2 separate regions of the Homo sapiens genome follow, and region 2 is linked to region 1. Evidence: promoter capture Hi-C in 16 types of primary human blood cells and fetal thymus (Javierre and others, 2016). All regions are on one chromosome and are shown on one strand. Each heading gives the region's core, a stretch centred on a gene start or on the middle of the fragment in contact. The rest is flanking DNA. Distances are from core to core; before and after follow the strand shown. Region 1 holds the start of UGP2 (UDP-glucose pyrophosphorylase 2). Region 2 holds the start of ACTR2 (actin related protein 2).

Region 1 (5,953 bases), core at 1,323-3,822:
ATAAAGCTTGAGAAAACCCATGAAAAAAAAAAGTTAGAAACCTAACATTTGTTAACTCTTTCCCCTATGAAGGAGCATGAACTACTAAGTGCCAGTGATTGGAAATATCAATATTTTCTGCAGCAAAGATCAAAGAATTTGATTTGCTTAAAAAAATAATCAAAACCAAAATTTCCAACCCTTACACTTGAAAGCTCTTTTGTGGAGACAGCTGTGTCATTTGCCAATTAGGTTTATCATTTACAACAGCAGCAGAGTTAAACATATAGAGGGCTCACACTGTACAAAATTTAAACAATGATAAACAGGAGCACATTCATGTCAAAAAATTTTGAGGAGGTGTCATATTCTTGTGCAAAACTGCCCATCTTAAAAGGAAAACTACCATTTAAAGTAAAAATGTATGACAACTATAGGCTATGGCATATGCCTAAGTCCCATCTACTCAGGAGGCTAACGCAGGAGGACAGCTTGAGCCCAGGGGCTTGAGGCTGTAGTGCACTATGATTGTTCCTGTGAATACCCACTGTACTCCAGCGTGGACAACACAGTAAGACCTTGACAAAAAAAGAAGAAAGAAAAAGAAAAAAGAAAAAAAGTGGCTGGCAACTAAGTGCAATCTGGTATCTTAGAGTGAATCATGGGAACTGTAATCTGAACAAAGCCTTTAGTTAACAGTAATGTACCTATGTTAATTTCTTAGTTTTGACAAATGTGCAACTTTTCTATAAATCCTGAAGTATTCCAAAATATAAAAAGTTTTTTTAAAAAAAGTGGATGACAAAGTAATGACAAACATACACAGCAACTCTTACCACTTGATTTTGAATCTTCTGAGGACAAGTTGGCATTACAGCAAAGGCTGTGAAATCAGTCAATGCTTGCCAATTCTGCAACCTATTCTAAAGCATAACTCTACATGGAACACCTTGGGTTTATTAATATTTCTAACTTTTAAAGAGAAGTAACTTGTCCACTTTTACCTAGCATATTCTTGCAAAATACCGCCTTTATGGTAACTGAATATTGTTATTACAAAACCAGTACGTTTCTAACAGTTCTGCCTTTCTATTCTTGAATAAGACATTTACTCAATCAGAACATAAGCATCTCTTACCACATATAAGGTATAACATGAATTTGAAAGTCTAATAACAAGTGACATTTCTGAGCTTAGCGCTAAAGGCAAGCATAGCGTTCGATCTGTTTCGATAATAACACAGGCAGTCGAATTCTCTTACTTTAATCTACTACACAAAATTTAAAGAAGAGTTAATAAAGCGATGTAGAACTCAGTAGGGCATTTTTATTCCCAGGGTCAAATGATGGCCATTACTGACACAACTTTTTTTTTCCAAAAGTACACCTACATTTATCAGGAAGCATAATAAGTGTTTGTGAACTTTACTAGCTGTGTGTTCATCAAGATGGCTGAAGCTTTCACACACTGGAGTCTACAAGGAAAGAGTTTACTTGCATACCAGAAGGCAAATCTCATGCTACAAACTGGTGTCAAAGGTTTATGCCAGCACCAATTTCAGTGAGTACACCGTACACACATGCATTCATATACACGTTACTGATAATCTCAGTTGAGGCATTCCCTAACCCTTTTTAAATACACATGTGGAATTTAGAGAGCAGTTTTCAAACTTCAAAGGAACCTTAATCATCTTTTCATAGTTCAAAAAAGGAAAAAATAAACACAGCAATGCAGCAAAGTCATTTCTCCAGCTGAAATGACCTCCAGCTTCTTCGGGCTACTCCCAGTTTCGCAATAAGTGAATCTGAGACGCAAACCACGTACACACAAACGAAGTAGAAGCGGAGAACACTAAAGCTTCCCCAACAGTCCCGGCAAAACCCACCCGGCTTTTCTCAGTCCTCCCGCTTCCCCAGCCCTTCCCGTCTGCGTGCACGCACAGGTACCTTGACACAGACCAGGAAAAGAGAACAAGGATTAATTAGCAGCCAAAAATCCTGTTTTATCACTTACAGCCACTATCCAGGAAAGCGACGGTACTACTAACCTGATTTCAGGGAGGCAAAACTAAACCCAGCAGGGTACAGGAGCATAAATTATACGCGTCTGGAACGTCAACCCAGCAGCTCAAGGCAGCTCAGATGACAATTCAACGAAAAGGGTTTCGCAAATGTTATCTCAAATGAACATTTCCACTTCCAAACCACCCACCAACCTCTCCACTGTCAGTACCCAAATTTGCCTGAAGCAACTCGGGATATAAGCAGCAGCATTTCTTACCTTGTACAAATCTCGACATTTTAGGGGCTTAGTAAAATACTCCGGCTTTTTTTTTTTTTTTCTAGAGGAGTCACGCTACAGGGCAGGTCTCTCTTCCTCTCCTGCTTTAACAACCGATGTATTCTTTCTCCTCCTATATTTAACTACTTAAGGGAGTATTTATTCAAAGCGATTAAAACTGGCTCAAGAAAAAAGAAAAGAAAGAAAGAAACTCCTTCCCCAATTCCAAAAGACGGAAACTTGGTGCGACTGAGTCGGTTTGGGAACTCCTGAGCTCCGGACACAAATGAGGGCCAGCTGGAGACTCCCGGAAAAGGTAAAACCACACGAACTTAAATTTCTTCAATGAAAGAGGCGGACCTACAGCGGCTATTTCACCGCCCCCAAGTCCCCACGCCCTCCAGGGCTGTACTGCAGGAGGCACTGGCAGGCCGCGCCCCTAGCTGCCCCCTCCCCGCGCCGCCGTCCAGGCCCCAAACGCCTCCCCCGAAAACCCCGGTTAACAGCGGCTCCCGCCCAAGCAGGGGTCGGGGAGGCGGGCGAGGCCGGCCAGCGGGGGCAGTGCAACCATTTTCACCAGCCATAAACATCCTGGGACTAGGAGGCGCTACCAATTCCACGCTCTGGCTGGCCGACCGGTCGGGGCCTCAGCTCCCCGCCTTCCCGCCTCGAGCAGTGAAACCCGGCCGCAGCTTTTTCTCGGTAGGGGCCGAAGGCTACGCTGCCCCTCCCCCGCAGCGGACACTAAGGGGTCACCGGCTAGAGGCAGACCCGTGCACCGGCGCGGGAGTCCCAAGGGAGGGCACCGACCCTTCCCGTACATATTCTCGCCCCGCCTGCCCTGCGCTCCTCAGAAGCCCAAATTCCGCCTCCGAGACCACACAGCGGGCCAGCGAGAGCGGGAAACACACTCATCCAGGGGGTCGCCGGAAGCCCAACCCCGCCCCTCCTCAAGCCGCCAGCGAGACCCACCTTCCTCTTCCTTTAGCAGCTGGGAAATTGGGGGCGTTTATGGCGCCCCGGGAAGAAGGCTCGCAGGCTGAAAGTCACCTCTGAGGCGCCCTTCTCTCTCTCTCTCTTCCCTCACACATGCACACCTTGAGCCCCTCCCTAACGGTCGCAGCCCAGCTGCTAACCCCCCCTTGTCCACCCGTCAGCCGGCTCCCGACACCCACAGCCCCTACTTTCTCCTAAACACCTCCCCTCCCCCTCCATTCGGAGCAGCCCCTTCAATGCGGAAATGTCCCTGCCGCACGGACCGACAGGCGCAGCCGCCAGTCAGGAGCCGAGGCGGACGCAGGCTCTGGCCAATGAGACGTGTGGAGGTGGCAAGGGGCGGGGCGTTGCGGCACTTGAGAGCCCGTCGGAGTTGGGCACTGAGCAGTACGCGGGGATACCGCGCGTGGGAGCAGCACTTACGGCGGCGTTGCGGCCAGGGAAGCCTCGCCAGTATATCTCAGTGAGGGAGAGCACCTGAGCACGACTGGTTATTTTTCCAATCAGTAAAAATATTCCCGCTGACTAGGGACTAAAGAAAGCCCTGCGGATAGAGCCGGAGCTCCCCACCGCAGCTGCCCCGAGGGAGCCCAGACGCTTCTCAGGGGACGCTTGCTCCCCTCATCACATCTGGTTGGGGGAGGGTGAGGATGCGTTAGGGAGTAGGCATTGGCCTGTGTGGGCCAGCTAACAAAAGGAGGGTTTAGGCATTGAAGAAAGTGACAAGTGAAGGCTCCCTCACCGGAACCACCACCATCCCCATTGCCCCGGTTCCTAATCCTGTAGAGCTGCTGTGATAGGCGTTTACTTTTCTCTTCAACGTGGAACTGGCCTAAGTTACTCCTCAAGAGATGCTTTTCTTTTGGTAGATTCTTGAAGTCCTCAAGGAAAGAGGATGTTACACGGAACTTGACACTAGCCTGGGGACTGTTACAGGGCCAGCCCACGGCTTGTCAAATCACACCTGGTACCGTCAACCCCACCTGCATCTAAGACTCAGTGTGCCTGGCAGCGAGTGCATTTCAGACTTTGCATTTCCACTTTAAGACTCAAATAGCCCGCACCAGGGCAGATGATTTGCCAGCGCCTTCTCTTAAGTGCCTTCAATAAACAAGTACGGTAATTACAGAAGAGTTTGAGGCTTTGGGCAGCACTAATCAACCAAGGTAAAGTGAGAATTTTTTAATGACTCATTGTCTAAACAAAGGAACTTTGATTTTTTGGTTCTACGTCTTTATATGGAAATGTTATTAGAACAAACAACACAGAAAAGGCTAGTGAAAAATTGTTATACTAGAGAATGACAACCATTGGTACTGTGTTTCTTACATGAAATCCAAAAAGATTACACTCAAAAACCTCTCGGCCGTAAAACGAATTTTCCCCAGACAAAACAAGTGTCTAAAATCCAGATGTCTACAGTTTAATAACAGCATTTGGAGACTGAAGATCTTAACAAAATCTCTACATCCTTTGTATACAGTACAAAAATTGTTCCAGCACTGAAAAAGCAGTCTTTACCAATGAGCATTAGTACCAAAATAAAATACTACCGAAAGATTTGGGCCACGTAGGGTTACTTAGCCTGCAAAAGATGAAGGACAATGAAGAGATTTATTTGTTGTTGTTGTTTTGTTTTTGTTTTTGTTTTGAGACGGAGTCTTGCTCTGTCGCCCAGGCTGGAGTGCAATGGCACAGTCTAGGCTCACTGCAACCTCCGCCTCCCGGGTTCAAGCGATTCTCCTGCCTTAGCCTCTCGAGTAGCTGGGGCCGCAGGCTCGTGCCACCGCACCTGGCTAATGTTTGTATTTTTAGTAGAGGCGGGGTTTCGCCATGTTGGCCAGGCTGGTCTCAAACCCCTGACCTTGTGATCCGCCTGCCTCAGCCTCCCAAAGTGCTGGGATTACAGGCGTGAGCCACCGCGCCTGGCGAGTTTTTAATTATACAAGGTTTATTATAAGAAACGATGATCAGTTACTGTATTTTCTGCCTTCATGGAAGATTAAAAAGGAAATGGGTTTTAATTGCAGCAAGAGCATTTGTTAATATCTAAGAATGGCATCTTGATTTATGAGTGATTGAATATTGAGATATAGTACCAAAGGTTGTTGTACACTTGCTGCCTCAAGAACTCTCCAAAAAGTAACTAACTACCCATCTTCAGGGGCTACATCTGTAACTACTCAGTCACTAGTTCTTAGAGAAGTAGCACTCTAGAAGCTTAGTTTCCAAATATTTCCAAACAGTACTTATAAAATGAAATTTCTTTATACATCGGTATAAATTTAAATTTTGAACCCACAAACACTTTGTAAGCGAGCTTCCCACTCTCTCAGAGCCACTAAGAACAACCTCACTTGACAAATCCTGTGGAGATAGGAAAGAAAGAGGTGGAGTTCTTAATGGCCATGGAGCAAAGACATGCTTAGAAAGCAGTTACCTATTTCCCTTTATATATTTCAGTCATTGAAAAATTGCTTTCTCTGGGCAAGTATGTGTATCTTTAATCCTTTTTTTCATAAGATACTACTCTGGAATATCCCTTCAAGGTGCATGATGTTGATAATCTGTATCATTAGAAATCTGTAACATCGGTAGATTTATAGATTTTACCTTTGCAGAAACCTGGGGTGGGGGGATCCAAAGAATGAAGATGGGGGCTGATAAGAGTGTGTACAGGGTTAAGGAGCTGGA
Region 2 (5,953 bases), core at 1,125-3,624, 1.4 Mb before region 1:
CAATTTGAAACTATAGTGGAAATCAGGCTAATACTTTTTTAAAAAGCACATTTAACTGAATTTTAGCCGCACATGTAACATGCGTTTATGGTTAATTTAGTTTAAATATAGTTTAATAATACTTGCTTTGTTCAAATAAAGAACATTTTTCCAATAATTCAGAAAGGTCATGAAGTCCTCTCCATCTTCCCTCACTCCCTTATCCTCTGTCTCATAGGTAACCATTATGAACATTTCTTATGTATCCCTCCAAAACTTTCATATGCGGATACAAGTTTGTGGACATACATCTTTAATAAGGAACACACACTTAAACTGAATCATTCTAAAACCTTTTTCAACTTAAAATCTTAGACGTTTCCATAGCAGTGGATCTGCCTTTTTAAAAATATTACATTCTTAAAAACCGTCACATTAATATGTTTTGTTTTTCTTTTTTTTTTTTTTTTTTTTTGAGACGGAGTCTTGCTCTGTCGCCCAGGCTGGAGTGGTGCGATCTCGGCTCACTGCAACCTCCGCCTACCGGGTTCAAGCGATTCTCCTGCCTCAGCCTACCGAGTAGCTGGGATTACAGACGCCCACCACCATGCCCGGCTAATTTTTGTATTTTTAGTAGAGACGGGGTTTCACTATGTTGGCCAGCCTGGTCTCAAACTCCTGACTTCAGGTGATCCGCCCGCCTAGACCTCCCAAAGTGCTGGGATTACAGGCATGAGCCACCGCGCCTGGCCTCAATGTACGTTAACACTCTTTTTACTCTAGTCCATTTTTAACACAGTTCAGATGAAGCTACCATAATTATTGCTTGTAAAATTGTGTAACAAATCTAATCAAGGGCAGTATTATGGCAGTAAATACCAGCTCTTTTCCCCCTCAACAATTCAGATTCCAAAGTGTTTTGTTCAAGTAAAATGAACTTTAATTCATACATCATATTTATGGGAGGGAGGGGAGAAAACTCACAAAATGTTGCAACATCAAAATGGTTAGAAATCACTATAGAAGTCATCCAGAATAAATAATATTTCCATCTTCTAATTTGCTGACTTTGCTACCCAAAATACATTTTTTTTTAATCTGGCAAGAGGGAGGTCTGAATGAAACAATTTTTTTTTTTTATAATTGAGACGGAGTTTCACTCTTGTCGCCCAGGCTGGAGTGCAGTGGCGCAATCTCGGCTCACTGCAACCTCCGCTTCCTGGCTTCAAGGGATTCTCCTGCCTCAGCCTCCCAAGTAGCTGGGATTACAGGCAAGCACCACCACGGCCGGCTAATTTTTGTATTTTTAGTAGAGACCGGGGTTTCACCACGTTGGCTGGGCTGGTCTCGAACTCCTAACCTCTGGTGATCTGCCCGCCTGGGCCTCCCAAAGTGCTGGGATTACAGAAACAATTTTCAAATAGTTTCTAAATCAGTGCTTTAGTCAGATTTTACAATTTTTGAATCTTAAAGGCTAACATTACCTGTATACTGAAACGAAGGGAAAAAAGGGGGCTGGGGGTGGGATAATCAACACTAATTAACTTCCCCTAAGGCTAGTGGAATTAACACTTGAGTCTTGCGGGATCCTAGGTCACCCAAAACCACTCAATGGAACATGCTGGTCTCCGTGGGCCTACTCCTGGGCCAAATACTAGTATGTAAAACAAAAAGTGAACGATGCGCTGCCGATCTGGACCCCTTCCCTCGAAAAAACTAATAAAAAGCCCAACAAACACAGCGAAAGGGCTGAGGTCCACACTCCATGACAGCACTTCCCTTTTTTTTTTTTTTTTTTTAAGTAAACCCGCTTCCTGCTTCTCGTTTGGTGTATCTTCAACTATACAGGAAGAGGAAGGCCTCTAGGTCTTTCTCCTTTTTACAAACCGGTGGCCCTGGGGAAAAGAGCCCTTCTCGGAACACACAAACCGAGCCTTTTACGCTTCCGTCCGCTTTAGCCCAATTGCCCCCGCATTAGCGCGGAGCAGGTCCCTGCCGGGCGGTCAGTAGGCTCCATGTCCAGTGCCGGTCTCGCCCGCCGCCCCCACCCGGAAGGGTGAGGGGGTGGCAGGCTAAATGGGTGGCAGGCTCAAGGGAGACCAGGGAACGGCCGGCTCGCTCCCACGCCCGCGGAGGTGGGAGGCACCGCCCCGCGCCCCTTCGCCCCGAGGGCCCGGAGGTGCAGCCCTGGGGGCCGAGGGCCCGTGCGCCAGCTGCTCGTCCCCGCCGGCGTCTGTGGCCGCCAAGGCCTCCTCGCGCGGCCCTTACCCCGGTGCCGTTGTCGCACACCACCACCTTCCTGCCCTGGCTGTCCATCGTCCGCCCAGGGAAGAGCCGCTGCAGCCGCACAACCTACAGCCACCGCCGCCCGGCCGTTTTCTCTTCTTCCTCTTGCGTCTTCCCGGCCCCTCCTTCGGCCCAACTTTTTTCCCCCGACCGGAAGCCGCCGCCGGGCTCCGCCCGTCATTTAGCTGAATGCCTGCACGAAAAGGGTGGGACGGGCAGGCAGCGCGACTGGCAGCGGTGAGCTCCAATAAAAGATGGAGGAGCGTCGAGGCCCCTCCCGCAGCTCCGCTTCCGGCTCGGCTGTCACGGTCGCTGCCCACCCGGGTTCTTCGCTGCTTCTAGTTCCGGGCGCTTTGCCGGGCGTTAATGGCGGCCAACATCGCCGGTGCTGCGGCTTTCTCCCTAAAGTGTCACAGGAGCTAAGGGCGCTGCTTAACGAACTGCAGAAGACGCAGGCAGGTGAAGGACACCGGTTCTGCTGCGGCAGTGGAATGTGGCGGAGAAGCTGGCGGGTAGGGCGGGGAGCAAGCCTGGAGGTCCTGGCGGACCCCACCATTCGACAGGGCTTGGTGTGTTATTGCTTCTAGGCCTTTTCAGCGGACAGAACTGGGATGGATACACACATGCTTATTTGAAATCATGCGTTTGTTCCATACTCCAATGTCAGCCCACCCCTTCTTTGCCCAAGTTGCTCTATGGTCAAGTGAGCGAGAGCAGGTGCCTGCATTTCCAGCCTCGTGGCTCACCGCCTCCTTCCAGTAGTCCCATGTTGCTTCACACCTCTTAAGTACATGTACTTCTGTGAACCCAGAGCCTTGGCTTTGAAATCAGACAACCCCAGTTTCAAACGTGGCGCTGCCACTCACGAGTTTTGTGATTTTGGCATACCCCTGTCTGCATGGGGATAATAACTTCTATCTCCATAGGTGTGGTGAGGATAAAAGTCTATGCATGGAGGAAATGTTCATTCAGTGGTAGCTATTTCTAATTCTGTTCTTCTGGACCTATGATTCTATCTACGATGCCTCATTTTTTTTCCTTTTTAATCAATTGGCAAACTTGTGCTCTGAGACCCAGCTTGTTACATCTCTGATGACAGCTGATATCCTCAGGATATTCCGTACTTCCTTTCTCCCTATTACTTTACTATGAATATATGAATAACATTGTGCTTATTGCATGCAACAAATATTTATTAGATGAATGACATTAAAATTCACCTTTAAAATGCCATCCTTTATGAGAGGTGAGAAATAGAACTTTTCCTTCGACATGGCTGTACATGTTCAACAACTAGAATAAAACAGTCATCATGAACCCTCAATCCAGTATTCTTTTTATAATATAGCTGCCTGTCAGTTTTCACTGTTCTTTTATTAGACCAGTGATTTTCAAACCTTTTTAAAGGCATACAGTGCTTTATTCAAATCTAATCTTATATGGAACCCTCAACACATAAATATTAAGATAAAAATAAAGCTGCCATTGTTGCAATTAGAAGTTTGAGAGGTTAGAATAGGTAGGAAGTCTCGGAGGAACATTTCTTCGTTTTACCTGCTTTAACAGTCAGAGAAGTACCTCAGCCAGCAGAAAAATTTATTTGTTCATAAATTCCTTGAGTATAGAGTCCGTATCTTATTTTTGTGGCCTCCAATGCTAGTGCTGTGCAGTTTTCTTGAAAGTGCATTTTATTGGTCTCAGCAAATTGAACTCAAGCATTTCTGTGTTCTTTTACTTTTCCTCTTTGTGGAATTAAGGGGATTGCTAATTTGTATTTTTAAAGAAAGAACATTATTCCGGGCGCGGTGGCTCACGCCTGTAATCCCAGCACTTGGGGAGGCCAAGGAGGGCAAATCACCTGAGATCAGGAGTTCAAGACAAGGCTGACCAACATGGCAAAACCCCGTCTCTACTAAAAATACAAAAATTAGCTGGGCGTGTTGGCACGCGCCTGTAATCCCAGCCACTCAGGAAGCTGAGGCAGGAGAATCGCTTGAACCCGGGAAGCAGAGGTTGCAGTGACAGAGATCGTGCCACTGCACTCCAGCCTGGTGAGAGCAAGACTCTGTCTCAAAAAAAAAAAAAAAAAATTGGCAAGTTTGGCCCTAAAATTTATATGAAATGAAAAGGAACCAGAATAAAAGGATTTCGAAACAGAAAAAGATGGAGAACTTCCACTACCTGAATTCAAAACTTATTATAAAGCTACAGTAATGAAGACTGTAATACTGGCATAGAGGCAGATATATCGATCAATGGAATCAAATAGTCCACAAATAAACCTTTACATTATGGTCAGTTGATTTTCAACAATGGTGCTAAAACAATCCATGGGGAAAGGGTAATCTTTTCAATGAATGATGTGGGAGGGAAAAAAAAGAACTTTGATTCTTACCTCACATCACACATAAAAATTGATTTAAGTGGATCATAGACCTAAATATAAAAGCTAAAACTATAAATTTCAGAAGAAAAAGAGGAAAATCTTTTGATATTAAGTTAAGCAAAGTTTGCTTAGATATGACGCTAAAATCGTGATCTATAAAAGAAAAAATTGATAGTTGACATAATAGAAATTTAAAGCTTTTAGTTCATGTATTGAAACAAAAAATCTAGACTGGGACAATGGCTCACATCTGTAATCCCAGCACTTTGGGAGACCAAGGTGGGTGGATCGCTTGAGCTCAGGAGTTCAAGACCAGCCTAGGCCAGATGGTGAAACCCCATCTCTACAAAAAATACAAAAATTAGCTGTGCATATAGTCCCAGCTACTTGGGAGGCAGAGGTGGGAAGATGGTTTGAGCCCAGGAGGCAGAATTTGCAGTGAGCTGAGATTGCGCTACTACGCTACAGCCTGGGTGACAGCCAGACCCTATCTAAAAAAAAAAAAAAAAAAAAAAGAAGAAGAAAACAAAAACAAAAAATCTTGGTCTGTCTTAGGCAACAAGCAATTAAAAAAAAAGTAGAAAATAAAGCAAAAGGGCCGGGCGCAGTGGCTCACGCCTGTAATTCCAGCACTTTGGGAGACTGAGGCGAGTGGATCACCTGAGGTCAGGAGTTTGAGACCAGCCTCGCCAACATGGTGAAACCCCATCTCTACTAAATACAAAAATTAGCTGGGCGTGGTGGCGGGCACCTGCAATCCCAGCTACTTGGGAGGCTGAGGCAGGAGAATTGCTTAAATCCAGGAGGCAAAGGTTGCAGTGAGCCAAAATCATGCCACTGCACTCCAGCCTGGGCAACAGAGCATAACTCCATCTCAAAAAAAAAAAAAAAAAAGAAAAAGAAAAAGAAAAGCCATGAACTAGAAGAAAATATTTGAATAGATATTTTACCAAAGAAGATTTATGAATGGCAAATAAGTACATAAAAAGATATTCATCATCATTAATCATTAGAGAAATGCACATTGAAAGCATAATAAGATAACACTTAATACCCACTAGAATGGCTATAATCAGAAAAATAGAAAACAAGTTTTGGCGGGGCTAGGTGGCTCACACCTGTAATCCCAACACTTTGGGAAGCCAAGGCGAGTGGCTCACTTCAGGTCAGGAGTTTGAGACCAGCCTGACCCAACATGGTGAAACCCCGTCTCTACTAAAAAATACAAAAATTAGCCGGGCGTGGTGGCAGGTGCCTGTAATCCCTGCTACTTGGGAGGCTCAGGCAGGAGAATCGCTTAAA

The links. Contacts are between HindIII fragments. The CHiCAGO score rates a contact against its expected background, and 5 or more counts as called.
Region 2: a contact is called between the fragment with the promoter of ACTR2 here and the fragment with the promoter of UGP2 in region 1, in 1 of 17 cell types (activated CD4 T cells). The highest score is 5.6, in activated CD4 T cells.

Annotation. Positions count from the first base shown.
Region 1 is chr2:63,838,515-63,844,467 of GRCh38, reverse strand. UGP2 (UDP-glucose pyrophosphorylase 2) reads right to left here and starts at 2,572. Exons shown (of 10, transcript NM_006759.4): 1 at 2,264-2,572. The coding sequence starts at 2,282. It also overlaps a transcript of WDPCP not described here. RefSeq lists enhancers at 2,466-2,515, 3,386-3,565 and a silencer at 2,616-2,925. The HindIII fragment of the contact is 3,639 bases long and covers 1,843-5,481 here.
Region 2 is chr2:65,224,252-65,230,204 of GRCh38, reverse strand. It overlaps ACTR2 (actin related protein 2), which reads right to left and starts at 2,374. Exons shown (of 9, transcript NM_005722.4): 1 at 2,248-2,374. The coding sequence starts at 2,295. LOC124907779 (a long non-coding RNA gene) reads left to right here and starts at 2,606. Exons shown (of 2, transcript XR_007086461.1): 1 at 2,606-2,724. RefSeq lists enhancers at 1,443-1,532, 1,605-2,493, 2,494-3,383 and a silencer at 2,033-2,222. The HindIII fragment of the contact is 6,982 bases long and covers 1-4,850 here.